Regions from separate parts of the Homo sapiens genome. Here regions 1, 3, 4, 5, 6 and 7 are each linked to region 2. The links are contacts of gene promoters, found by promoter capture Hi-C in blood cells and fetal thymus (Javierre and others, 2016). All regions are on one chromosome and are shown on one strand. Each heading gives the region's core, a stretch centred on a gene start or on the middle of the fragment in contact. The rest is flanking DNA. Distances are from core to core; before and after follow the strand shown. Region 1 overlaps DST (dystonin). Region 2 holds the start of DST (dystonin). Region 3 overlaps ZNF451 (zinc finger protein 451). Region 4 overlaps ZNF451 (zinc finger protein 451). Region 5 overlaps BAG2 (BAG cochaperone 2). Region 6 overlaps ZNF451 (zinc finger protein 451). Region 7 overlaps RAB23 (RAB23, member RAS oncogene family).

Region 1 (3,516 bases), core at 195-2,694, 240 kb before region 2:
TGAGGCTGGAACGATGCGCCGGTGGACATAGAGGCTTTATATCCCAGGTTAAGAAGCTTGAACTTTTCCTACACAAAGAAAACTACGAATTTTAAACAGAATGAGGCCATAATATCTCTGACCAATATAAAAGCTTCCCTGTAAACTATTATCTTAAGCAAAAACAAATCAATCACAGGTAAAATCAAGAGCCCAATCTGTACACAATAATAGAGGAAAGGTCCCTCAGGAAAAAAAGGAAACTGGAAGAGTCATTCCATTAATGAACCTTGGGTAAAATGCAGGCATCCTAGTGAGCTCTGCAGTAGGGAGCAAAACATCAGCCACATAAAGGGTTCACAGTCCGCTCTTAAAGAAGTTCTATATCTAAAGGATACAGTATTCTGGAAAACAATCAGCTATCTTTAGAAAGAAACATAAATAATAAAAGAAGGCTTGTCCCAAATGAGATCGCCTCACTGGCTTATACTAACTGGGTGACGAGAAGAAGGATAGTTTGCTTTAGTGAAAATTATAAATTAAAATATTTTTCAATGCAATTTTTTTACATCAAACAAGTACGTTCATAAAAAATTAGCTGTCAGGTTCTCCTGGGAGAGTTCCTTAGACAGCCTACTTGAAAAAATAGAGGTAACATAAATATCAATATATTAACATATTAATTATTGATAAGAAAATTAATGCTTTTAAAATACACACAAAAAATGCTCAAAAACATTGTATTATCTTAGGTAGCTGCCTTATCTAAAGTTGTTTTTTCATTACAAATTTATTTCAGTACTACTTCTTCAGGAGTTGTGAAAGAATAAAACTACAATTCATATTCTACCTAAATTATTATAAATTCGAAATTGGTGCAGTTAAGTCAAACAGGGAAATATCCTTATTTGGCATGATAAAAAGGCGGTTATGGTTTTTTAAGGTACTACGTTAAGTCAACATTAAGGCCACATAGAATTCATCTCCTTTAGGTTATTTTTAAACTATGAAATAAAGGTATTAGTTACACATCTTAAGGTATTAATGGATAAAATAATAGAGAGTTTTTTTTTTAATCCACATTGGTACTAGGTGGTACAAATAATGTGTCTACTTCTTTGGACCTGATTCACTCCTTCACAAAGAAGGCTTCTCTTTTTAGCTTTTGGGTAGACAATCTATAATCAATTAAAATGCAAAAACTGAATGGCCTTTCCTAGTCTTTCACCACAAGGTGGAACTAGGTAGTTAAATAAAATAAAAACATTTATTAATATATTACAGATAAACACTTTAAGATTTGGGGTATTTTAGTCACTGTTTCACCTAGGTATTTTTTATTCTCTTCTATACAGTTTCGCCATGGTTGCAGTAACCTTTTTAAAAGGCTATTTCAATTTTTAAATATTTTTAAATAGGTAACTTTTCTGTAACAGTCTGAGGTTAGGGTTGGTTGGTTCTGGTTTGGTTTGAGTTTAGGTCTCTATCTTTCCTATCTTCCCTTTTATTATCAAGAAAACAGATAAAAAATCTATTTTTGCTCACATTTTCCCCTGAACCTGTAGATTTTTCATCTCTTGCATAGCTGTACAGATCTTGGTGTGGGGTAATTATAATGTAATGTAACTGAAAGGGAGAAATAAATTCAGAAATCAATATACTCTGCATAGTATATCTTTTTTGGTATCTGTCCAGTTCCTTGGACAGATTATTAAAGATGTATTCTTGACAAACTCCACACTACAATGTCTAACAAACGAGCGTCGGCTTGTAAAGGCATCAGCATTACCCATTCCACATATGAGAGAGAGAAGAACAGCTAATAAATATTATTGTGCAATCTTTTAAAAATAGGAGGAGGTGGCCGGGCGCGGTGGCTCACGCCTGTAATCCCAGCACTTTGGGAGGCCGAGGCGGGCGGATCACGAGGTCAGGAGATCGAGACCATCCCGGCTAAAACGGTGAAACCCCGTCTCTACTAAAAATACAAAAAATTAGCCGGGCGTAGTGGCGGGCGCCTGTAGTCCCAGCTACTCGGGAGGCTGAGGCAGGAGAATGGCGTGAACCCGGGAGGCGGAGCTTGCAGTGAGCCGAGATCCCGCCACTGCACTCCAGCCTGGGCGACAGAGCGAGACTCCGTCTCAAAAAAAAAAAAAAAATAGGAGGAGGTATTTTAGATAAGACTAAGGATGCTTCTTTCCAGTATTCTGTCTGTTTGGCAGGAGAATATGGGCATTACCTTTTACAGGTTTTTCAAATATCCTCCTAGCTCATTACTTATATAAATCTTTCTTTAAACTCTTTTTCACCTTAAAAAAATCATGGTAAGTACTACTATGTCAAGAGCAATTTTTAACACCAGCATAAGGAAAAGAGGAGAAACCAATCCATATCCTTACTATGCTCACCTTTTTCCTACTCCTCCTACTTTCTCATAATTTGGGCAAAAGAAAGAAAAAGCTGGGAAAGCAAGGGTCATTATCACTTAACGTGTCTAAGGAGAAAACCTAATCAAGGAAACAAAATTTTGATGGAAATAAGTGAAAATGTGTGGTTGTAATATAAAGACAAATAATGACAACGAAGTAGAATGCTATTATAATACTAATAGCTAATTAGACATAGTTCATCTGTGTGCCATGACTTAAAAAATATAACTAGGTGTAACAAAGTCTGCTTGACACAGGTAGTCTATAATGACACCATTACAGTCTTATTCTTTACCACCACTGTTTTAAAGAGATTCCACTATATTTTTAAATTCCAGCTTTTACTGAAAAGCTTTTAAAACAGAATTGTAAATACTTTAAAATAAAAATCATGCAAAGGTTATTTTAAATAATTTTAAATTAGTTTTATTTAAATTTATATCATGATCAAAATTCACACTAGTTCAAAAAATGTGTATTTCCTCATCAAATCCTCCCAGCTAATGACTCTCTTGTAACGTTATACCAAATTCATAAATCAGATTCAAATTGATCATTATAAATTTAGAGATGTATTCAAGTAAAAGCATTCTGTCTTTGAAACAACAACAAAAAAAGAGAGCTCCTGGGACAGATACAGCAACCTCTCAAGTCATGTGCTTCTAACACAAGGTCACTTTACCAGACTGACTTTCTCTTTATACCTACCTATCATTGGTTTTAAAGAAATCTTAATCATGGTTGGTGATAAGATGGAATAACATGTAGGGGAGTAGCACTGCAGTGCAGGGCATGGTATGATTCCAGGTAAAAGGCAGTCTGAAGACCCTGGGCAGCTGGTGAGTGGGAAGAGAAGCATCAGAAAAGGAATATAAGGATGTGACAAATAAAAATTTCAACTACTTTGCAATTCTGATTAAAGTGCTGGTTGTGGCAACTACCCTGAATACTTCTGAGCTGAATCATCTCTTTTGGGGCTTTTGTCAAATGAGCTATAGGTTGTCAATGCCTGACCTATAATCTCAACACACACACACACACAATCAAAGAACTACCTGAACCTCAAAAATTAACTTCATCTACTTCCTGGATAATGTCTTACATGGCT
Region 2 (3,435 bases), core at 614-3,113:
TCTGATTAACTAATGAAATGAAAGGCAAGATAACTTCAGGTAAATGGAGGGCGTTTAACTATGAAGTCTTTGCCAACATGAGTAAACTGCACCAAGCAGCAACCTCCAAGCCTGGCGGCGTGCAACTTTCCTAAAAAGAGGGGAAATTATCTTAGGATAAGTGGAGGTTGGCCTGAAAACTCCTAAAGAAATCCTAGGTCAAGGAGCGCTTGTGTTTCTTCAGTGGAGCTGGTTCCTGGGTGCAGTGATTAGGAGTTACTTGCCCTAGAGGGATGGTCCACGTTTTGAGAGTGGAGACTAGCACAAGCATTTAAGCACACACTACCATCATCGCTTTGCAAAAATCATCAGATGGTCCCCAATAAAACATGGAGAGCTTTAGGAGAAAACAGAAATGTAAACTTGAAAATCGAAAATGAAATGCATATGGATCAAATTGTTCTGCACTAACCTCTTCGTTTATCCAAGTGAACAACCAGAGTCAACTGACAGCACCCAGAAAACACTTCCACCAGCAAAATATAAACTGTAAACTCAAGTGACATCCACCCTGTGGCTAAGTTTTTTAAGGTCTGCAGCACTTTTAGGGTTTGCCTTTTCCCCTCTTGTACAACAGCTCCACTACACAAGAAATTTGCTAAAACCGTTCGCTGGGCACTAATATGAAATCACTTAAAAGGAAACATGCCACTTTCGGCTAGGGGACAGCATGTTCGTCATTCAGTGTCCTACTGGTTTCTTAACACGCATATAATTAATATTGGTACTCAGGAAAGAGAACTTCTTCTGACCTTGAGCGTGCGCGCTAAATAAATTACCTCAGAACGAAAGTGGTGCGATCTCAAAACAGCATCTGGGGAGAAAAGAGATAAATGAGACTTCATTTAACTCCTTGTTCTTCACCTACCGAGTGACTCATGACTTACCTGGGAGACCAGGGTTGGGAAAGCACATCGCAGACTCCTGGAATTCGGTGGGACATCCTGGGGGAGGGAGGAGGAGTCCTGGGGCCATCGGTCTCTACGTGATTTCTCCGCGAGAAGTTTGCATGAAAGTTCTGGGGGAGTTGGGGAGCCCCGAAGTTTCCATGCCTTACTTTCTTACCCCTACGCTCCAGCGAAGGATGCGTGAAGGCGAGGCTGGCGCAGCCCCGGACTACGCTCAAATTACCCTTAAGGCTTTAGCAAACTGACTAAAAATTTGAGTTCTTTCCTCCCCTCCCTGCCCTCGGCATCGCCGTGGTTATTCAAACCTGGGAGACTGGAGGGCGGAGGTGACGGCAAAAAGGGCAAGGGGCGTTAAAGAAACGCACTCAGCCTGGGGAGTGGGCAATGATGGGGCTAGGGGCAGCCGAGGAGAAGGGAGCGAGCCGCGCTTCACTCTCCAAATCGGCTTAATTGTTCCTGGTAGCCCGCAGAAACCCGTCGCGGCGTGTCTTACCTCGGCTTCTTGAACGACCCGAGAAGACCGATTTCATCGGATGCCTCCCTTTCTGGAGCTTGCGGTGCCAGCAGCAGAAGAAGACGATGGTGGCGATGGTGCCCAGCAGAAGCAACAAGAGGAAGAGGGCACATTGGATGCTGTAGGGTCTCAGCAAGACGAGGAAAGCCGCGGCGATCATGGTGCGGGCGAGGCGAGGGCGACTCGACGGCGGGGCTGGAGGGCGGCGGCACAGGCACCCGCGCTGGGCGCACGCCGGGACGGCGGGCACGGGTGAGCGCGGCTCAGCGCGTCATGCCTGGCGCTCGCGGCCCCGCGCCCAGCCCAATGGCTGCGCACCCCGCGCCAGCCGCGCTACGCGAGTGATCCAGGGCTGCGGGGAGCGCTTGCCATGACTCAGCAGACAGCGACGAGGCTGCGACTCGGCGGCTGGGATCCTCTCCCCTCCCTCCCCAGGCGCCCCCGCCCCCGTCCGTGCGCAGCCCCCGGGCGCAGCCCCGCCGGGGACGCGGCGAGTGGGGAGGAGCAGCGCCGCCGCCGCGGCCGCCCGGGCCCCGCGCATCGTCCTGCGGCCGCCGCCGACCTCAGCATCCCAGAAGCCGGGCGCACGTGGGTCGGGGCGGGGACGCGGCGCTCAGGCTGCAGCCGCGGCAGCCTGCGGGGGGCGGGAATGGGGCGCCGCGGCGGGGGCTCGGCTGATGACATCACGGCCAGGCTGCGGCAGCGCGGGCGCGCGGACATGGCTGCGGCGGTTTCGGCGGCGTCCGCGGGCTGCACCCGGGCCTGAGAGCCCAGCGCCCTCCCGCGGGGCCGCCCGCCAGTCCGCGCCGTCCGCGGGTGCATTGGCCGGGTGCCTCTAGCTTCCCGGACACCCGGAGCTTCCGCCTATCCAGCCTCCCTCGGCCAAATTGCTGCGGAGCCCGTCGTCAGGGGGCGCCAAGGAGCCAGGGGGAAAACCGAGAGGCGCTGACAGGAGCCTCCCGGCGGTGCTACCCTCCACCTCCCACCTCCCTGCGCCCCGCCCCGAGGTTGGGGCTTTGAAGAATGCAGCCGGGTGAGCTATTGCTTGTGGGGGTTTCCTCGCACTCTGAAGCGCGAGCGCCGGGAAGGGCCTTCCCTGGGAATTGGGATACTCCAGGAACGGGAGGCCCACTCCTCTCCAAGCCTCTCTAAACTAGGAGCGCTCCGGGGTAGTACGCTCTGGTCGGCAGAGGTGAACTCTTCCACCCCAAACTTGGTGCTTATCTCGCAGCTAAGAATTGGGCACTTTCGATCTTCTTGTATCCCTGGGTTTGCCCTAAAACCCTGACTCATTTAGTGCATTTGAAGGGCAAGGCGATTTCAGATTTAGGGACCTGGCAGATGAAGTAAGTTGGTACTTGGCTTATAAACATTTGGGGGAGAAATTTTTTAGGGAGTGTGAGGCAATAGTGATCTCTCACACTTGCAGGCACACTCTGTCTCCCCTTTGTCCCCTCCCCACGTTTCTTCATAACCAGCAAAAAGTATATGGCAGTTGGTGGCCAGGGGATTTAACACTGATGCAATGCCAGCACGGAAGGTATAGCGAGAGCGCTGCAGTGTGCCTTTCTGCGGACGGCCACGGCCACCTGGCCAGGAAGCGGCTGCTGCAGCAGTCATTCTGCGGCATCTTGCGGCCTTGGCGGGCGGTGCTGTGCCGCGTTCTGCTGCCCCCAAGGCAATGCTGGCTTTCCCTGTGTGGGGCTGGATTGTTTGTTTCATTTACTCGCATAAGAAAACTTTAATTATAGTGACAAGGTAACACTTGACTGCATTTGCGGAGTTTCTTATAACAACTGTATTAGCCTCTTTTTTGGAATATTTAATAGACTGAAGAAATTGTGTCATAAAAATTTATAAAAATTTGAAAAGCAGGTAAATAATTGGGAGGAATAAAAGTTTTATTTGCTTGTAGTGATCTCAAAATCAGTGTTGTTTTCCAACTATACAAAACCGTACAGCTCTGCATGAAAG
Region 3 (3,553 bases), core at 1,023-3,522, 210 kb after region 2:
GTCTACAAACCTGTATAGCATGTTATTGTGCTGAATACTGTAGACATTGTAACATAATGGTAAATATTTTTGTATCTAAACATAGAGACATAAAAATACATAAAAAATGGTATACCTGTATAAGGTACTTACCCTGAATGGAGCTTGCAGGATGGGGAAGTTGCTCTGGGTGAGTCAGTGAGTGAGTGGTGAGTGAATGTGAAGGTCTAGGATGTTACTGTACTCTACTGTAGATTTTATAAACACTGTACGATTAGGCTATACTACTTTTTTTTTTTTTGAGACGGAGTCTTCCTCTGTTGCCCAGGCTGGAGTGCAGTTGTGTGATCTTGGCTCACTGCAACCTCCGCCTCCCAGGTTTAAGCGATTCTCCCACCTCAGCCTCCCAAGTAGCTGGGATTATAGGCATGTGCCACCACGCCCGCCTAATTTTTGTATTTTTGGTAGAGATGGGGTTTCTCCATGTTGGCCAGGCTGGTCTCGAACTACTGACCTCAGGTGATCCGCCCACCTTGGCCTTCCAAAGTACTCGGATTAAGACATGAGCCACTGTGCCTGGCCTATACTACATTTAAAAAAATTTTTTTTTCTTCAGTAATCAGTTCACCTTAGCTTACTGTAACTTGTATAAACTTTAAAATTTTTAACTTTTTGTCTCTATTGTAATAACACTTAAAACACAAACACTTTGTACAGCTATAGAGAAATATTTTCTTTATATCCTTATTCTATAAGCTTTTCCCTACTTTTAAATTGTTTTATTACTTTTAAAACTTTTTTGTTAAAAACTAAGACACAAACACATATATATTAGCTTAGACCTGCACAGAGTCAGGATCATCAATATCACTTTTATAAGTAGCAGTACCCTCTAAAATAATAATAAAAAGTATAGTAAATACATAAACCAGTACCAGAGTTTATTATAATTTTCAAGTGTTATGTACTGTACATAATTGTATGTGCTGTACTTTTATACAACTGGCAACATAGTGTATTTGTTTACAGCAGCATCACCACAAACACATGAGTAATATGTTGCACTGCAACATGAAGATGGCTATGACATAATTAGGCAATAGGAATTTTTCAGGTCTATTATAATCTTATGGGACCACTGTTGTATATGTGATCCACTGTTTACCAAAAGTTGATACGCAGCACATGACCATACTTGCTTTTTGTTTTTTATAGTCTTTCAGCTGGCAAGTTTAATCCCTATAAGCTCACTGGAGGTATGATATCTTTGTATAGATGTTGCTGTACTTAATGATGGTTTGATTTATGATTTTTTTACTTTATAAGGATGTGAAAGCAATATGCATTTAGTATAAACCATACTTCAAATTTTGAATTTTAGTTCAAAGATTTTTATAACTTTAATTGTAAAACAGACGTTGTGATTTCGTATATATATACACACACACACACACACACACATATATACATATAACCTACTATCATTTGTTAAAAAGACCTTTCCCTGTCATTCTGCAGTGCTACCTTTGTTATAAATCCAGTGTCCATATATGCATGGGTCTGTTTCTGAGCTGTCTATGCTGTTCCTTTGGTCTATTTATTCTTGCACTAGTAGCACATTATTAGTTACTGTAACTTTATAATAAGTGTTCATATCTTAGACAAGTCTTGTCCCCTTGTTTTTCTTTGGTAAGAGTGTCTTGGCTTTTCTTTGCATTTCCTCATCCCTTTTAATTCATCTTAAGGGCAACTAACTGATCCTAGAGTGTAGCTTTAACTTGATACACAGTTCATGCTAGTTTATTGTACTTTAAATTAGACAACATAACACTAGTGCCCCCAATCAGAGGAACATGCGGTTGCATCTTAGGGAGATCACTGGTGCCTGTAGCCAAGTAGCCTCTGAGAGACTGTGGACCAGATGGGATGAGATAAATCTGGTGTGAGAAGCTAGTGAAGGCCAAGAAATTGACACCAAATTTCACCCTCCTGGATTTTAGCATCATTCCCAAGGAGGAGATGGAACTCAACTATTGTGAACCCAATAACGTCTGTCTTGTTCACTATTACATTGCTGTTCCTGGTATATAATGGGCATTCAATAAATATTTGTCAAATGAGTTTACATACATCTGCATACAGCATATATTATATGCTTCTCAGATGACATTTATGTGGCTATGAGTTTCACTACCTTAGATGCTAGGATGCTTTAAGCTAATTTTTCCCCAGCTTTATTGAGGTATAATTAAAAATTAAACTAAATTTTTAATGGCCTGTGACATTTTGTCATTTCATGGAGTTGCCTTTCTGTTTAAAGTCTTATATGTATCACCTCAAGTCTTTTAGCAAATAAGTGATACAGATTTTTTTTTAAATGTTGAAACAAATGATTACCTGTCAGTGATTTTAAAAGTTTGTTGACTTTCTACATTCCTAAGTGGAATTAACTTGCAAGTTCTAAGTTCATATATAAAATTCAATTCAAGATCATGTCTAGATTTTCATATTTCAAAATACTCAATTTTTTAGTAGAGAAACTGCCAAGTTATCCTGTGTTTTTCCATTTTGATTTTACTTTCCTTCTTGAAAAGAATACAGTCGATGAAACTTAAATAAATACAGCACATGTTGAGTTTTCTGCCCTAAGTGTTAAAATTCTATGTTTTTTAATGCAGATGTGGAATTAGAAGAAGCTATTAGAAGAAGTCTTGAGGAAATGTAATTAAAGATATTACCACACAACATCAAGTGGCCTTGAAGAGACTGAGATAACGAATTCTTGAGTTTGTTTTCTAAAGGAGACCAGAAATCCACTATTACAAATGTATTTGAAAACATGTTTTTGCTTTCATATGTTCAAAATCTGATCTTTGTTTTGTATTTTTGTGCTAATGTGCAAACATGTACAGAAGAAATAGAATACATGTTCATGCAAATATAAATTATGTATTCTAATATAGGTGTAACAGTTTCCCAGTTAACTTTGAATTTATATATTTAGATTTAAAGGATTAAAAAAAAGGAAAGCTCTTGACAGTTGTTTCCCAAATAGCATTAGTTCTTTAATTTTATTTGTACTGTACAAATGATGCTAGTTTATTTTTTTAGCAGTGAAAATGAATATAAAAAAGGTGACATAGGTCAAGTTTTCCATAAATTCTACTTCTCATGTGGCACTATTATATAATACCTTTGAGATCTTTGTTTATGTTTATTAGAAGAGGGTAATGGAAACTGATCATGGAAACATTTAAAATTTTATCAGCAATGTTCTTTGTGGGTGCCATGCATATGTAAATTATTGCTTTAATTAGAGCAGCACATTGCTAAAATAAAAAATACACCTTAATTTTTAAGAAATAATTTAAATGAAACAATTTCCATTCCTTTTACCTGCTTAGACTTTTATGTGACTTGTATGGTCTCCTGGTTAAAGGGAATGGTGTCAGAATATTTGCATAAAATTATTTTTCATAACAGTCCTTTTTTATATATTGGTGTAAACATAATATTCTTCAAGAAATAATGTTGAAAGCCTACTCAGGAATAATCTTCCTTAACTCTTTAAATT
Region 4 (3,755 bases), core at 565-3,064, 190 kb after region 2:
TGCTCACTGCAGAAAGCCTTTTCATAAGATAGAAACATTGTACCGACATTGCCAAGATGAGCATGACAATGAGATAAAGATTAAATACTTCTGTGGGCTTTGTGATCTTATCTTTAATGTGGAAGAAGCATTTCTGAGTCATTATGAGGAGCACCACAGCATAGATTATGTATTTGTGTCAGAAAAAACTGAAACTTCAATTAAAACCGAAGATGATTTTCCAGTAATAGAGACCAGTAACCAGTTAACTTGTGGTTGCCGTGAGAGTTACATCTGTAAAGTCAACAGAAAAGAAGATTATAGCAGATGTCTCCAAATCATGCTGGATAAAGGAAAACTGTGGTTTCGCTGCAGTTTATGTTCGGCAACAGCACAGAATTTAACCGACATGAACACTCATATCCATCAAGTGCACAAAGAAAAGAGTGATGAGGAGGAGCAGCAGTATGTAATCAAGTGTGGCACCTGCACCAAAGCATTTCATGATCCTGAGAGTGCACAGCAGCATTTCCATAGAAAACATTGCTTCTTACAGAAACCCAGTGTGGCTCATTTTGGATCTGAAAAATCAAACCTGTACAAGTTTACTGCTAGTGCCTCACATACAGAGAGAAAACTGAAACAGGCAATAAACTATTCAAAAAGTTTAGACATGGAGAAAGGAGTTGAGAATGACCTAAGCTATCAGAATATAGGTATGGCTTTATAGCTCTATGCAAATTTCATATACTGATATTGAAACTTACAATGTACCCACCTCGATTCAATTTTGAAGCAAGAAACAGGGTAACTTCTTGATGGTATGTTAATTATTATGGTATATACATTTTAGGGGTTTGTATTCCTACTACTACATTTATCCACTTTCTAAACTTACGAGGACAGAGTATATGTTGGCTTTAAATAATATATATTTTAGATATCATTTTATTTTACAAAAGGTGTGGAGATTTTGAAGATGAAGGAAGTTGATAGTTTTTCTGAAAGTTAGATTTCAAAGTTATCCTAGTATTAATATCATTTAGATTTTTCTTGTAATATTTGGGTTAACTAAAAAGATAAATCACGTGAATTCTTTTTGTTTCTATTTGGCCATATTCTTTAGTGTGAGACATTTTAAAGGTCATTTCAGCATTTGTATATTTTTGTTATGATTAACTTGGAAGAAAAGCTTTAACATACAATTAAAATAGCAATTAGAAGTAGAGTTAAAGTGGTAGCAGGAAACCAGGGGGAAAATTGAAATATGAATTCCTTGTTTGTACTTACTCCAGACTTTCTTTCTTCCATATGATAGGATTAAGTAAGTCTAGGCAGGTGTTATGTTTTTATTTTGTTTAGAAGTATAATTTGTTTTGTTTAGAAGTATAATTTGTTTTTGTTTAGAGTATAATTTTAAGTGTATCTTCTTTTATTTGTAAAATTTTTTTGAGATGGGATTTTACTATGTTGCCCAGGCTGGTTTTGAACTCCTGGCCTTAAGCAATCCTCCTGTTTTAGCCTCCCCAAGTGTTGGGATTACAGGTGTGAGCCACCACACCTGACTTAAGTCTATATTCTTTTAAATAAATACTAATTCTTGGTGAGTTATACAATGTAGCATATTTGGGTACAGTGAGAATATGTGAAAATTTTGGCCAGTAATGTATTTTTATGAACTATTGAATTTTTAGAGTCTTGCTCTATACCATATGTAGATTTCAACATCACCTTTAGTCATGGCATGTTTTCAGTGGTAAAGAATTAAATCATGAGCTACCTAGTCAACTCTAAACAGTGAAACACTGGTTACACCATTTTATGTTAGGCCTTTCTTTTGCGCTTCTGTTTACTTTTTTTTTGGAATTTGTGTTAGTCTGTGTTTGATAGAAAATGCAATACCTAAATCTAGAATTACCGAGAAGTTAGAGAAAAGACGTAAGGTGGCTTGGAAATGGAAGGGAATGGCAGTAGTATATTTGAAGGAACTATTAGAATAGAAACTATTCATTTTTTAAATAATATAACATTTTAAAGTTTGCATTGTTACCACAGGAAACTTTAAGGCCTTGTCAAAGTGGAAAAGTATGAAACAAGATAAAGGGGAGGGAGAATGAGAGTTGGGGCATGGGGGAAGGTGAAAGAAGAATCTGAGAGAACCAAGAAGATGTGTTTATAGGGGGAGGTGTCTCTGTACCACTGGCACATATTTCTAGCACTGCTTTATGGCAGCAGGATTCTAGGTTATCTTATTTCTGCTCTCTAGGGTGTTTAATCCTAGAACTAGAGGGCTACTAATAAATCAGTCCAGACTGGGAAAAGAACCAAATTCTGGTGGTGAAAATGTTCTTAATAGGTAACCTTGGAATTTTATATGGGTGGTATTAGTTTTTGCTTATTTAACCTTAAAACTTGGTTTTCTAGTTCTTCTAGTACATTAATTTTTTAAAAAAATTCCTTGTATAAGTGACTTTTTAACAAGCTTTAGAGTTGTTGGAAGAAAATGTTTGCAAGAAGGATATATAACCAAAATTGGTGAAATGTTCAGATTATTTTTATCTGATTTAAGTGTAAATGGTGTCATGTACAGATTTGGATTTCACAAAAAGGTTTAGATAGAAATGAGTAACATTCAAGGTTAGTATTTTTGCATATTAGGCTTCTAATACTTTTTGGACTTGAAATCAGAATGATTTTAGCAAATTCTTACTGAACTCATGTTGATATTTCTCTCTTCTCAGAGGAAGAAATTGTTGAGCTTCCAGATTTGGATTACCTGCGAACCATGACTCATATAGTCTTTGTAGATTTTGATAACTGGTCAAACTTTTTTGGTCATCTACCAGGGCATCTAAACCAAGGAACATTTATTTGGGGCTTTCAAGGTACGGTTAATAAGAAAAACAAAAGAAAACTTTTTCCCACCTCTTAGAATATAGTTCAGTTTAAAAGGCTCCTCTTAAACCTTCCTGGATAGAACATAGGAACATAATTGGAATATTGTTCTTTTGTATTATAGTTACTCTGCTAGAATCGTTTTCTTTACATGCCTCTGTGGTAAATGTTAGCTCTATCTGGTGACTCAAAGTTTATGGATCTTTTGGCCGGGCGCGGTGGCTCACGTCTGTAATCCCAGAACTTTGGAAGGCTGAGGCGGACGGATCACGAGGTCAGAAGATCGAGACCATCCTGGCTAACATGGTGAAACCCCGTCTCTACTAAAAAGAAAAAAAAAATACAAAAAATTAGCTGGGCGTGGTGGCGGGCCCCTGTAGTCCCAGCTCCTTGGGAGGCTGAGGCAGGAGAATGGTGTGAACCCAGGAGGCGAAGCTTGCAGTGAGCTGAGATCGCACCACTGCTCTCCAGCCTGGGCAACAGAGTGAGACTCTGTCTTAAAAAAAAAAAAAAAAAAAAAAAAAAGTTTATGGATCTTTTGATACAGATTGAAAAAGCCTTTATTCAACACCTAAAATGTGTCAGGTGCTTTGGCTTTGTACTAACATGGTTACTGATTATTATGGTTTTATCCCTTTTAAAATACAAAGAAGCAGATGTTTTGTTTTTGTTTTTGTTTTTTTTCCCTCAAAGTTTTAAAACTAATAAATAGCAGAATTATTTGGCCTCTCAGCTATAGGACTAATGTTATTTTCAACATGCCATAACTGCCTCTTCGGTTCATCCTTGCTGTTCTTAAGTGTTCAGCTTCATCTAAACCTCTTTACAAATTGTTGACCAAACTTGGGGGAGAGGCTTCTTTGGTTTACAGAGAATCTGCT
Region 5 (3,299 bases), core at 766-3,265, 230 kb after region 2:
TCAATAAAATGAGAGTATTAAATATTGGCAGAGTATCTGAAATATGAAATAATTTTAGGTTGCTTTGATCTTTAAAGAAGTTGCATTATATATTTTACTATTTAGATCCACACTGTTGATACAATCATACATATCACACAAAATTTTAGCTTTGAAATGCATTTATTTTCTGATTATTGGAATTCATCCTTCATGAAATTTTTAGAGTAGTGTTTTAAATTAAGCTCCAGAGTGTAACTGCAACCAAATAGCAATACATACAAGTGGTTTTCCATTCAAATTTACAAAAGCATTATTTATTAGTAATAAAAATATAGAAGGAATTCAGTTTTCCTTTTATCCCCAATTTTTTGCTTTTAAAAGACCATTTACTAACATCCTACTGTAGATATTTCGAGAGACAGATGAAAATAATAATAATAAAGATTATTATAGCCAAATCATCCAGTTAGCCAGGAGTTTGATGACTGGATATTTCAGAGTCTACTGCGGGTTTTAAATATTTTGTTAGCAAATGAATTCATCTGTATGATGAGAGACTTACATGTTTTATAGCTGAAAACCTAAGGAGTGACAATAGTACATGTGACATTCTTAACAGTTAAAAACTGAGTAAGTCCTGTTCATTAGGTAGGTGCCATGTGGAACAAGCTTTCACCTCATCAATGCATTTTGTTTTCAGAGAAACAGACTAATGATAGATTAATGGGAACATTTTATCAGGTTAGCAGTAACTATTTCAAAGGTTTTGAAAAGTATGCTAATAATTAACAATATCTTATATTAAAAGGGTCCAACACTAAGTTGGGACATTAGGTCCTAAGGCCAACTCCCTATTCTAAGGTCTTCAGAAAAGGTCCAGTTTCCTAAAACTCACAGGTCCAAGGAGTACATGTTATTTATTGAGAGTTCCTTCTGAGCACTGCACTGCCAACTTCTAAAGCAACCACCTAGAACTTCACTCCATAATGAGGAAAAAGTTTTCATCCTCTTTTTGGTAGTTTTAGCTTTATTTTGAAAAAGTAACGTGTGCTATCAACTTTGGGCAGATACAAAGGAAATCATTTAACCTGGTTTTATTTAACTATATTGCCTTATATGGGTCATTCTATATACTATTTAATTCATAGACAGAGACTGGAAAAGGAAAAGGAAACCTGAGGAACTCTGAAATATGGCAGTTATTCCACAGCGATATGTCTACGCAAAAGATTAGCCGTAATGTTAAAAAAGTAGATTAGAGCACAAATGCACAATCACCTGGAATCTTGGAAAAGTTTTTCTTTAGTATACATGGTTTCATAAAATTAAAGTTATTTAAGAGAATGAAGGGTCTTGGAAAAAAAATGTCAATTTTTGAAGGCTTTAAGAATTGATTAAATTGAGAAATTAACATGGCTGACTTTCAGGCCTACTTAATTATTTTAAATGACTAATTATGGTTAGGTTTAAAATACAGCAGTGCAAATTAAAAATTCAAATATGTAACAAAGCTCTCTCTTCAGTTCTTATTTAAAAAAAGATAAAACTAGGTACATAAAATTATATTACAGGAACTGTAACTATCCTCAGAGATTACTTTTTTTAAATATAGAAAGGTAACACGCTTTTAGCCACACAGCTAACATGAAAAAGAACTAACTAGAACACATATAACAAGTGATTTTTCTGCCAATAAAGACAAAAGACTATTTGTTGCAAAGTATTATTTTGTGCAAAAATTAAAGAGGAGAGTAGAGAGTAGAAAATTGAAGAGAGTAGAAAAGATGACTCATTAGCAGTATCCACTGTTTGTTAGGAACTGAATTTTGCCCCCAAAACCTATGTCACTATCAGCAATGGGAGTGGTGACAACTGGTGACATAAAAATAAGCATTTTACATTACTGTGAAATAGATAATGCCAGATCATTTCAATATAATGAAAAGCAAAAATTTACTTTTTAATTTTTTTTATTTTTCCATCTAAAATGGCAAAGAGAACATTTACTTTTGATCACTTAACAAGGACACACCCAGGAAATTTGATTTTCTCAACATTAGGAGGATGAGGGGAGTACAGATGGAAAAACAAAAGATAAAACACAAAAGGAGTACATAAAACATTGTTTAGTACAAATAATGAAAAATGACTTCATGACATTTTCCAATAAAAGTTATTTTTACAGATTTTGCAATGCTGTAAAAACCAGGTATATTGAAAGGGGTTATTTATAGGTTAAAAATAAAGCCATTGATGAGTGATAATCAGTTTTAACAGAGTTCACGCAATTATCTTAGCTGGAAAGCTACTGTCCCAAGTGACAAAATTTATGTCCTGACACATGATTACATATTAAATCATTTTGTAAAAGAAATGATTCTGTATGTGGGACTGACAGCTCTTGAGAAAGTGCTATACAAACAAGGTTATAGAAATGTTGAAGTGATTGATAATCTTAAAATACCATACAAAAATGTGTAAACAAAAGGATGGTTTAGAGTTGCAGGGCATTATAAAATATGTAATTTTAGTTAAGACTAATAATAATATTTTTGTGCACTTTAAAAATGGTTAGTGTAATCTTGTAAGTTCAAAGCTGGGTTCTCAGTGAGCAGCAAAAGGTGTTAGATGCATCACCACACTTCACAGGACCTCCTGAATGACTGCAGATGTGCTGTGTACCTTCTTAAGGGGCTTTGGCTGACCTTATGAGAGCAGGAGCTCACCATGCTTATGGGTGACTATATCAAAAAGATCTGCAATAAGGCTCACCTGGGAGATGCTCTAGCATTCAAATTCCTATACTCCTCTTTTATCTACGCTGTCAGATGAAAACTGCTTACTGCTTTTAAAAGATATAATAAACAATATAAATTCTGATAGTAAAGCACTATAAAAATTAGGTATGATATTTTTGGCACAAAGCACTTTTTAAACCCAAGCTCATTTTGCAAAATATATGTCTAGAGTTTATCATTTGAAAATAAAAACATATACACAATATGTAAATGGTTTTATAAGTGAATTAATTAGAATGTACATTTTCTTAAATACTGCACATACCTTCAGCTTACTCCAGTACCAGACATCTGCATGCACACCCCACATTCTACATTACACAGATATTGCACAAGTTTCAATGCCAAAATACTAATGCAGTCTGGCAAGATTTAGGGTTTACCTTTCAGTATTATTTTGTGAAAGTATTCAGATTCAATACTATTTCGCAGAAAAGCTACATGACCAATTTCAGGAAAAGAATGCTTGCTATCTTTCCTTGATCCACAGTATTAAAATCTGTAACAATATATTTAGGC
Region 6 (3,325 bases), core at 12-2,511, 170 kb after region 2:
TTTTAATACATCTATTTTCAGGCTTTTTTTTCCTCTGCAGATACAGTTGCACATGGATTTGAAATTATTCTTTGTTTATATTTTGCCTCATTTGTTTAATACAGTTTGGCGACCTACTTGATATCCAAAGTATATTTCCACACCTTTGAAAAATTTGGTTAATGTTTTTAATGACGTCCATCAAATGTACATACCATAATTTACTTAAACCATACCCTGTTGTTAGGGGTGTAGGTTGTAGTAAATTTTGTGCAATAACACTGGTATACACATCTTAGAGCGTGCATTTTTATTTTGATGTATTTCTTTGTCATACATTTCTAGATGTGGAGTTCTGGGGATAAAAAGTAATCAGTATTTTCTGATCACTAATGTGTCAAAATCCTTTTCTCAAGGAAAACAGGGTAGTAATCTTAATTGAGTTTTTTCTTAATGTCTTCAGGAAAAAATTGATTTTCAGCATGCTCATGGGTTACAAGAATTGGAATTTATTCGAGGACATTCTGATACAGAAGCAGCAAGACTGTGTGTGGACCAGTGGCTAAAAATGCCAGGTATTCTTTAGAAATTACACTAAGGTTACCTAGCTTCCCCAAAGCCTTAAGGCAGAAAGTACGTCTGTTTTATGCTATTGCTAATAAGCATATAAGATATTAAATTTTGTTTCAGTGATACTAATATCACCTCATAATGGCCTACTTTATAATGGCCTGCTTTGCCCATTGTCTTTCTTCTTTGGCACAAGTATATTTGAGTATAAGCAATATAGGTCGTACCTGAGCTCATTAGATATTACTCATTTATTCATTTATATATTTAATAGTTATTGCATGAAGTAGCACATATGTCCATGGGAGGTGTGTAACAGATTATTTGAGGTCAGAAAAAGCTTCTCTAAGGAAATGGAATTTAAACTGAGATCTAGAGGATTCATGTTTATTTATTTATTCATCAGTGCAGCCTATGTAGATATTTAATAAGGAAGCATCCTCATAGACTTGTCAAAACATTGGGTAGCTTCTTCGTTACTAACTCTTTGCAGATCTGAGATTCCTTGAAGAGTTGCTGTGGAACATGTCTTACTCCACCGGATAATTTGGTGGAATTTTTAAGAGCCAGTAGGAGAGTCCCACCATGACAACTTTCCTGTCTTGTCTTGAAGAATATCTACTGAGCCTTTAAAGAGTTAGGATATCCACAGAAACTGTAGCTGTGGATTTAATCCAACAAAGTTTAATTACAAAAGTTCATGGAAATATCTATGCATGCAATGCTTAACTTTGTTGAACCTAGGTATCTTGGATTCTAAAGTTAGTTTTCAAGGGCTTTGCTTTGAATGGAATCAAATTGCCACTTATAAAAGAATTCTAATAATTTACATGTATTGGTATTTAGCAGTTCATTCCATTTGATACCTGACATAATCGATGTTTTAGACACTTGGCACCCCCTGAAACTATATTTTCTCCTTATCAACCTGCCTGTGCCTCGCAAACTCCCCTCCTGCCCCCAAAAACCTTTTTTCTTTGTTTTCTTCTTACTTGCCTGTGGGGTTTATACGTGGCCAACAAATAATACAGTATTAGGGATTGCTGAGTGAATATGGTTATTGTATATCATGTCCAATTATGTGAGAAGCTTATCTAGATTTATTCTATATAAGTTTGGTTGCTCAGCCATCTGTGATCTCAATACTTTATTCATTTCACTAATACAGTATTTATTATGTTCGATTGATCCGTTTATATGTCTGTCTCTTCCACCCAGCTATGTGCTTCTTGGGCACAAAGACCAAATCTTACTAATACTTTTTAGCGTCAGTTCCTTAAAAGAATGCTCAACATAGAGATACTCAATAAATGTTGGTTGAATTTTTATAGAGGTAGGCTATAAATATTTGCATAATGAACACAGAAAGGAAGCCTAGAACTTGGGCTCCAAATCTGACTGTTATTAAACAAAAAAATTATATGGCACTCCAGATCTACTTTGGCAAAAGACACATAGAAAATATGGTAAATGGTTTTGCCTCTTGGGGTGTTTTTTGAAAGCTTTTAGTTTTAAAAATCCCTCTTCATGTACATTCTTCTCAGTGGAAGAAGTTAATGACTAGCTCAGTGGTGTCATCTTTGCTGCGTCAGAATATTCTGGGACCTTTTAAACAGATGCCTACACCTTATTATCTCCAGAGATTCTTCTAGGGCATCTGTACTTTTGGGAAAGATCCCTAGGTGGATAGGAAAATGGACTAGAACTAGAAGACTTTATCATCTCTAGATCTCTTCTAAAAATTATCTCATGAGTCTGACACTTTCAAGTCCTATACAGAATGGTAGTCGGGCCAGTAATATGCCCTTCAAGCTTAATATCTGGCCTCCAGGTTGTCAGAATATTATAATGCATTGTAAAATGAATCTTGAGCATCTGTTTATGTATTTCCCTGAGCAGGTCAAGTGGGATCAAATGAGTTATTTAGCTGTGTCTTTATGGTACTTTCAAGATTAGTGTTTTCTCTGCCTTTCAGTACTGGCTTTTTGATGGCTGATAAGCTTAAGCCTGGAGTTAAGGTCTGTAGTTATGATCTTTTTTGTGTGATGGGCTCAGCTTTTTGCTTGGTCTCTGAGGCAATGTAAAAATAAAGTTTGGAATCTATTGCTTGAACAGCTGTGTAGTATTGGGCTATATTTGGTATGGTGCTATTCCATAAATGGGCTTTAGAGAGTGCTGAGATCCTTTAAGAGCATATAGCTGGGGAATAGAGAGGAATCACAGTTCTCTTTAATTATAGAGAGTGAGATTCTACTTCTCAGTAGCATTAAAGGACTCATTCAATCTATTTCAAAATACAGTACTCAGCTGTTATAATTCAGTTCTTTCATTAGAAGTATTTTAAGTACCTTATTTATAATTATTCTAATGTTGGACAATCCATTCTTTATGGGTTTTTAGAGTTGGCCAGTTTGCATAAATTTGAATACTTAGTATTATAATTTTTAAAAATGCTGTCTGTATTATTTAAGACAAAAGCTGTTTAAATCTCTGTATTTTGCCTTTCCATGGGGAAGCCTCCCCACCCCTCCACCCAGAAATTGGCTTCTCCAACTTTATTTTTATCCAGAGCCACTATTTATAGCTAAATAAAGGTCCTAATAGGAAACATCTGGAATGTGGGTGGACAATTATAACAGTTTTCATAATTCTTACTACATTAAGAATGTTAAAGTATATTGCCATTTTAATGCCTTGTTAAGACTAAAATATGATTAATTCCATGCTGTCCATTATTTGTTGTCAGAACATATTTATAAACATTTTGACAGTTTGA
Region 7 (3,692 bases), core at 1,192-3,691, 250 kb after region 2:
AGCAACCAAAAGCATTCTAATGGAACCCCAAAGAGGTTTCCCAAAGGGAAAACATAAAATAATGTTCAATATACTGTTTTTCAATTTTATGTATAATTGCTGTTTTTTCTTTAATTCATATTGTATTGTGATAAATGTTTACTTTTACCATTTAGAAAAAGAAGACGCTGAAACTGAGGACCTATCTCAGTATCTCACCCTCTTTGCCATTTTAATACAGTCAGCTAAAAAGTTAAATTACTAAGATAGGCTGTTTTTTTTTTTTTTTTTTTTTTTTGAGACAGAGTCTTGCTCTGTCACCCAGGCTGGAGTACAGTGGCATGATCTCGGCTCACTGCAGCCTCTGCCTCCTGGGTTCAAGCTATTCTCATGCCTCAGCCTCCCCAGTACTGAGATTACAGGTGTGCGCCACCACACCTGGCTAATTTTTGTATTTTTAGTAGAGACGTGGTTTCACCATATTGGCCAGGCTGGTCTCGAACTCCTGACCTCAGGTGACCTGCCGGCCGCAGCCTCCCAAAGTGCTGGGATTACAGGCGTGAGCCACTGTGCCCAACCAGTTTTGCCTTTTTAAATTATAGAAACATAATGTCAAATATATTCTCTAAAAATAACCCTATTGGTTAAAAAGTAATAACTGCCACATCAAACTGTCAAAAGCTTAGAAAGGATTAGGCCAGCCTATCTGTTTCCTCAAAAAAAAGAACAGACATTTCATGCAGAGAATTTAGAAGACCAAGTTCACTAGATAAAAATAAAATAATGAAAATCTCAAGTAATCCTACTTCTTTCTGGTGTTTCCACATAGGTTTTATGTTTATTTTTTTCCTGAGTGTGTGGGGAAGGTAGTGGTAATAACCCCATTAAAAAATACAAATAACTTTTACTCAAGAATAAAACTGTACATTTAGGACCTGTTAATCAATACTGTCAAGGCTGATGAAATTCATAATTTGATACAAATATCATCTACTTGAATGACAGAGGGGTAGAAAAAAAATACCATCTACTCCAAGAACGGCTTGGGGTAGTAAAAACATAATTCTCAACCTTAGACCATGATACAGGTGCTCAGGATCCAAACTGGTAGCCACAGAGAATAACCAAAGCTACTGTGGACGGGAAGCCTTAAAGTACACAGTAAATAGAGTGGTAAGTAGTGGTGGCAAGAAACCAAAATATGTTTTAGAGCAGGCAGTGGAAGTCAAGTTTCCTTGGTACCAATTTAGAAAGGCAACTTCTTTGGTCATTTGTATGTTAGTACAATCATGAAACCTTAGTTGTCATTATTACAATAAATCCTACATTTTCAAAAGCGAAAAAAATAAGCTATATATTCAAAAGTTACATGAATTCACCCAATTTCTCAAGTATATCGATTTTATATAACTGGTGTAAGTTTGTAAATAAGCAAGCTACTTCAATAAAATCAGTGGTAAATCCTGTCTAAAAGAAGAAATTATGTGTTTATATGATACTGTACCTAAAAGTTCATTAACACTGTCACTTGGAACTTTCATATATATAGATTTCTTCAAGAGACACATACTGGTATACTGCTATTCAATATATCTATTCTATTTTCAAGTACTGCTTCTCTGATAATCCAGGACACACAAACATAGGTTCCCTTTCAAATTGGGTAAAGTGACACATTAAAGAAGACTTCCATGAAGAAGTCAGAAGAATTTCCATTGTATACATAACTATTATTTCAGTTTCATTAAACCTGTATCTTTCAATACAGGATGTTTAAAGAGACTTTGAAAAAATAATTCATAACTGCTTCCATATCATCTGTTGTTTGGGACTGTTTAGTATTCAACTACTAGCATTCTACATACTAAGATAGAATATATTTTAATTTTTATGATACCAAAGAGTAGATTTAAAAGCAGAAAACAAAAGATTTAAGAAGTAAAAAAGATAATTAGCTTAAAGGAAACTTTTCAGATATATTTCTAAGCAATGTTATTACATGAATATAAATACAAGTTAAGACAAAGAAGCCAGGGCAAGGTTTACTATGCCTATTATATCCCTAGAACAACAGAGACACTTAATACACATTTTCTGAATAAAACTTCAAATCTAGAGAAACAGTCATGGGGGCAACTATAAACAAGGTAGATCCTACTTTCCTGGGGCTTCTAGTTCAGAGAGCAAATACCTTTAAGTGAAATCATTTATATTTATAAATATAGATATATGTGTATATACACATACACATACATATGTGTACATATGTACAGACATGTTTACATAGATACATACATATATGTATATGTGTATATATACATCTGTTTATAAATATGTGTATATATACATATACATATATTTGCATTTATAAATATATATACACTGTGTGTATATATACACATCTATACATATATACTTTATATACACACATATATACACACTATATTAATTACATATATACATATTACATACATACACATATATTAAGTGTGTGTATATATGTGTGTGTGTATGTATGTGTGTGTGTATATATATATAAAAATAAAATTTCATCCATTACTTAAGGTCAGAGTATAAAGTTATAGCATCTGATAAGTAAAATGAGACTGTGTGATGAACGAGCAGAATTTCACTTTATAAAAAAATTAACCAAAATGATACTGTCTCCTAAGGTCAACTGAATTCACTTGAGCCAACAGGTGCTACGCAATGGGGCTGGGGAGACAAAGACAAAAAACCCTGCCACTCCATAAGCCAGAAGCTAAAGTAACTCATAATCTCTTAGGGAAAATAAATATGCAAATGCTACATAGAGTGATAAATGCAATAAACATACTGAATTAGCTAAAAAAAATTATTAACTGTTCAGGGATGAGGGCCACAGAAAGTTTCACAGAGACTTCTGAGATGTTAAACCTGAAGGCAAAAGGTCAAGAGAGACAAGAAAGCATTCCAGGCATAGTGTAAAAAGAAAAGAAAAAAATGGGGGATTTCTCAAGGGTGAAGTACAAGTGAGGAATCAGCAGATGATGCTGGACAGACGAGGGGAAACACAGTTGTAAAGTCCTGTGTATATGATGCTGAAGAGTTTTAACCACGAAAGTGATTTGGTAGTGGGAAGGATAAAATGGTTTTCACTGACTATTTTCTCAAAGAAGAGTGAAGCAAAGAAATCAGCAGAGTGGAGAGGAGGAAGGGATTCCCAAAGTTAAGGCAAGAGAAAACACAAAAGAGCTCTTTTGGAAAATGACAGAGACTTGAGTAAAAAACACTGAGAGTGCCTGGCAGCACTATGTACTCATTAAGGTTATGTGATGTTAGCTTCAAAGTTCAGTCTGAATGGTTGTCTGATATTCTCTATATGGTTCAGGTGCTCGGATGCAGATTGGTAGATAGTCGGGTTTAACTGGGTTGGGCATTTTGCTGAGCAAGTATTATGCAGAGAGCGCAGGTCTGGGAGTTAAAGGTCCTTGCAAGCAAATGCTTACAGGACTAGAAAAACTAAGCTGAAGAAGGAAAGAAGTAAAGCCATGTGGAAGGTCATATTTAAAAAGTGGTAGGGTCAATGAACAGAGAAGCTCTCGATGGTTTCAAGACAGCGTCTGGATATTAAAGTTAGCAAGCCACAAGCCACCAGTAGTGGTCAGGGAGTAGGAGACTATAGAGGTTTAGATTTTGGGGTAATGAAACAATTGTTGGCCTTGAAAACAACA

The links. The method cuts DNA at HindIII sites, captures the fragments that hold promoters and counts their contacts. A CHiCAGO score of 5 or more calls a contact.
Region 1: a fragment that was not itself captured here is called in contact with the fragment with the promoter of DST in region 2 in 1 of 17 cell types (endothelial precursors); the score reaches 6.1 in endothelial precursors.
Region 3: a fragment that was not itself captured here is called in contact with the fragment with the promoter of DST in region 2 in 3 of 17 cell types (erythroblasts, megakaryocytes and endothelial precursors); the score reaches 11.5 in erythroblasts.
Region 4: a contact is called between a fragment that was not itself captured here and the fragment with the promoter of DST in region 2, in 3 of 17 cell types (erythroblasts, megakaryocytes and endothelial precursors). The highest score is 10.4, in erythroblasts.
Region 5: a fragment that was not itself captured here is called in contact with the fragment with the promoter of DST in region 2 in 2 of 17 cell types (megakaryocytes and erythroblasts); the score reaches 7.8 in megakaryocytes.
Region 6: a contact is called between a fragment that was not itself captured here and the fragment with the promoter of DST in region 2, in 2 of 17 cell types (erythroblasts and megakaryocytes). The highest score is 9.1, in erythroblasts.
Region 7: a fragment that was not itself captured here is called in contact with the fragment with the promoter of DST in region 2 in 2 of 17 cell types (erythroblasts and megakaryocytes); the score reaches 7.7 in erythroblasts.

Annotation. Positions count from the first base shown.
Region 1 is chr6:56,709,969-56,713,484 of GRCh38, forward strand. The region is part of intron 5 of DST (dystonin); the gene reads right to left. Among named protein-coding and RNA genes, the nearest start is that of DST-AS1, 130 kb to the right of the region's middle. The HindIII fragment of the contact is 2,627 bases long and covers 132-2,758 here.
Region 2 is chr6:56,952,967-56,956,401 of GRCh38, forward strand. DST (dystonin) reads right to left here and starts at 1,864. Exons shown (of 104, transcript NM_001374736.1): 1 at 1,441-1,864; 2 at 819-853. The coding sequence starts at 1,621. It overlaps BEND6 (BEN domain containing 6), which reads left to right and starts at 2,141. Exons shown (of 7, transcript NM_152731.3): 1 at 2,141-2,494. RefSeq lists an enhancer at 847-1,478 and a silencer at 1,640-2,329. The HindIII fragment of the contact is 5,182 bases long and covers 1-3,433 here.
Region 3 is chr6:57,165,766-57,169,318 of GRCh38, forward strand. ZNF451 (zinc finger protein 451) reads left to right here. Exons shown (of 15, transcript NM_001031623.3): 15 at 2,658-3,553. The coding sequence ends at 2,704. All of the region lies in intron 2 of ZNF451-AS1 (ZNF451 regulatory antisense RNA 1), which reads right to left. Among named protein-coding and RNA genes, the nearest start is that of ZNF451-AS1, 4.7 kb to the right of the region's middle. The HindIII fragment of the contact is 3,078 bases long and covers 734-3,553 here.
Region 4 is chr6:57,147,999-57,151,753 of GRCh38, forward strand. ZNF451 (zinc finger protein 451) reads left to right here. Exons shown (of 15, transcript NM_001031623.3): 10 at 1-695; 11 at 2,721-2,864. All of the region lies in intron 2 of ZNF451-AS1 (ZNF451 regulatory antisense RNA 1), which reads right to left. Among named protein-coding and RNA genes, the nearest start is that of ZNF451-AS1, 22 kb to the right of the region's middle. The HindIII fragment of the contact is 1,290 bases long and covers 1,170-2,459 here.
Region 5 is chr6:57,186,849-57,190,147 of GRCh38, forward strand. It overlaps BAG2 (BAG cochaperone 2), which reads left to right. Exons shown (of 3, transcript NM_004282.4): 3 at 1-2,985. RAB23 (RAB23, member RAS oncogene family) reads right to left here. Exons shown (of 7, transcript NM_016277.5): 7 at 144-3,299. Among named protein-coding and RNA genes, the nearest start is that of BAG2, 16 kb to the left of the region's middle. The HindIII fragment of the contact is 2,733 bases long and covers 650-3,299 here.
Region 6 is chr6:57,128,287-57,131,611 of GRCh38, forward strand. It overlaps ZNF451 (zinc finger protein 451), which reads left to right. Exons shown (of 15, transcript NM_001031623.3): 5 at 443-554. The region is part of intron 2 of ZNF451-AS1 (ZNF451 regulatory antisense RNA 1); the gene reads right to left. Among named protein-coding and RNA genes, the nearest start is that of ZNF451, 40 kb to the left of the region's middle. The HindIII fragment of the contact is 749 bases long and covers 888-1,636 here.
Region 7 is chr6:57,202,748-57,206,439 of GRCh38, forward strand. All of the region lies in intron 3 of RAB23 (RAB23, member RAS oncogene family), which reads right to left. Among named protein-coding and RNA genes, the nearest start is that of RAB23, 18 kb to the right of the region's middle. The HindIII fragment of the contact is 3,567 bases long and covers 659-3,692 here.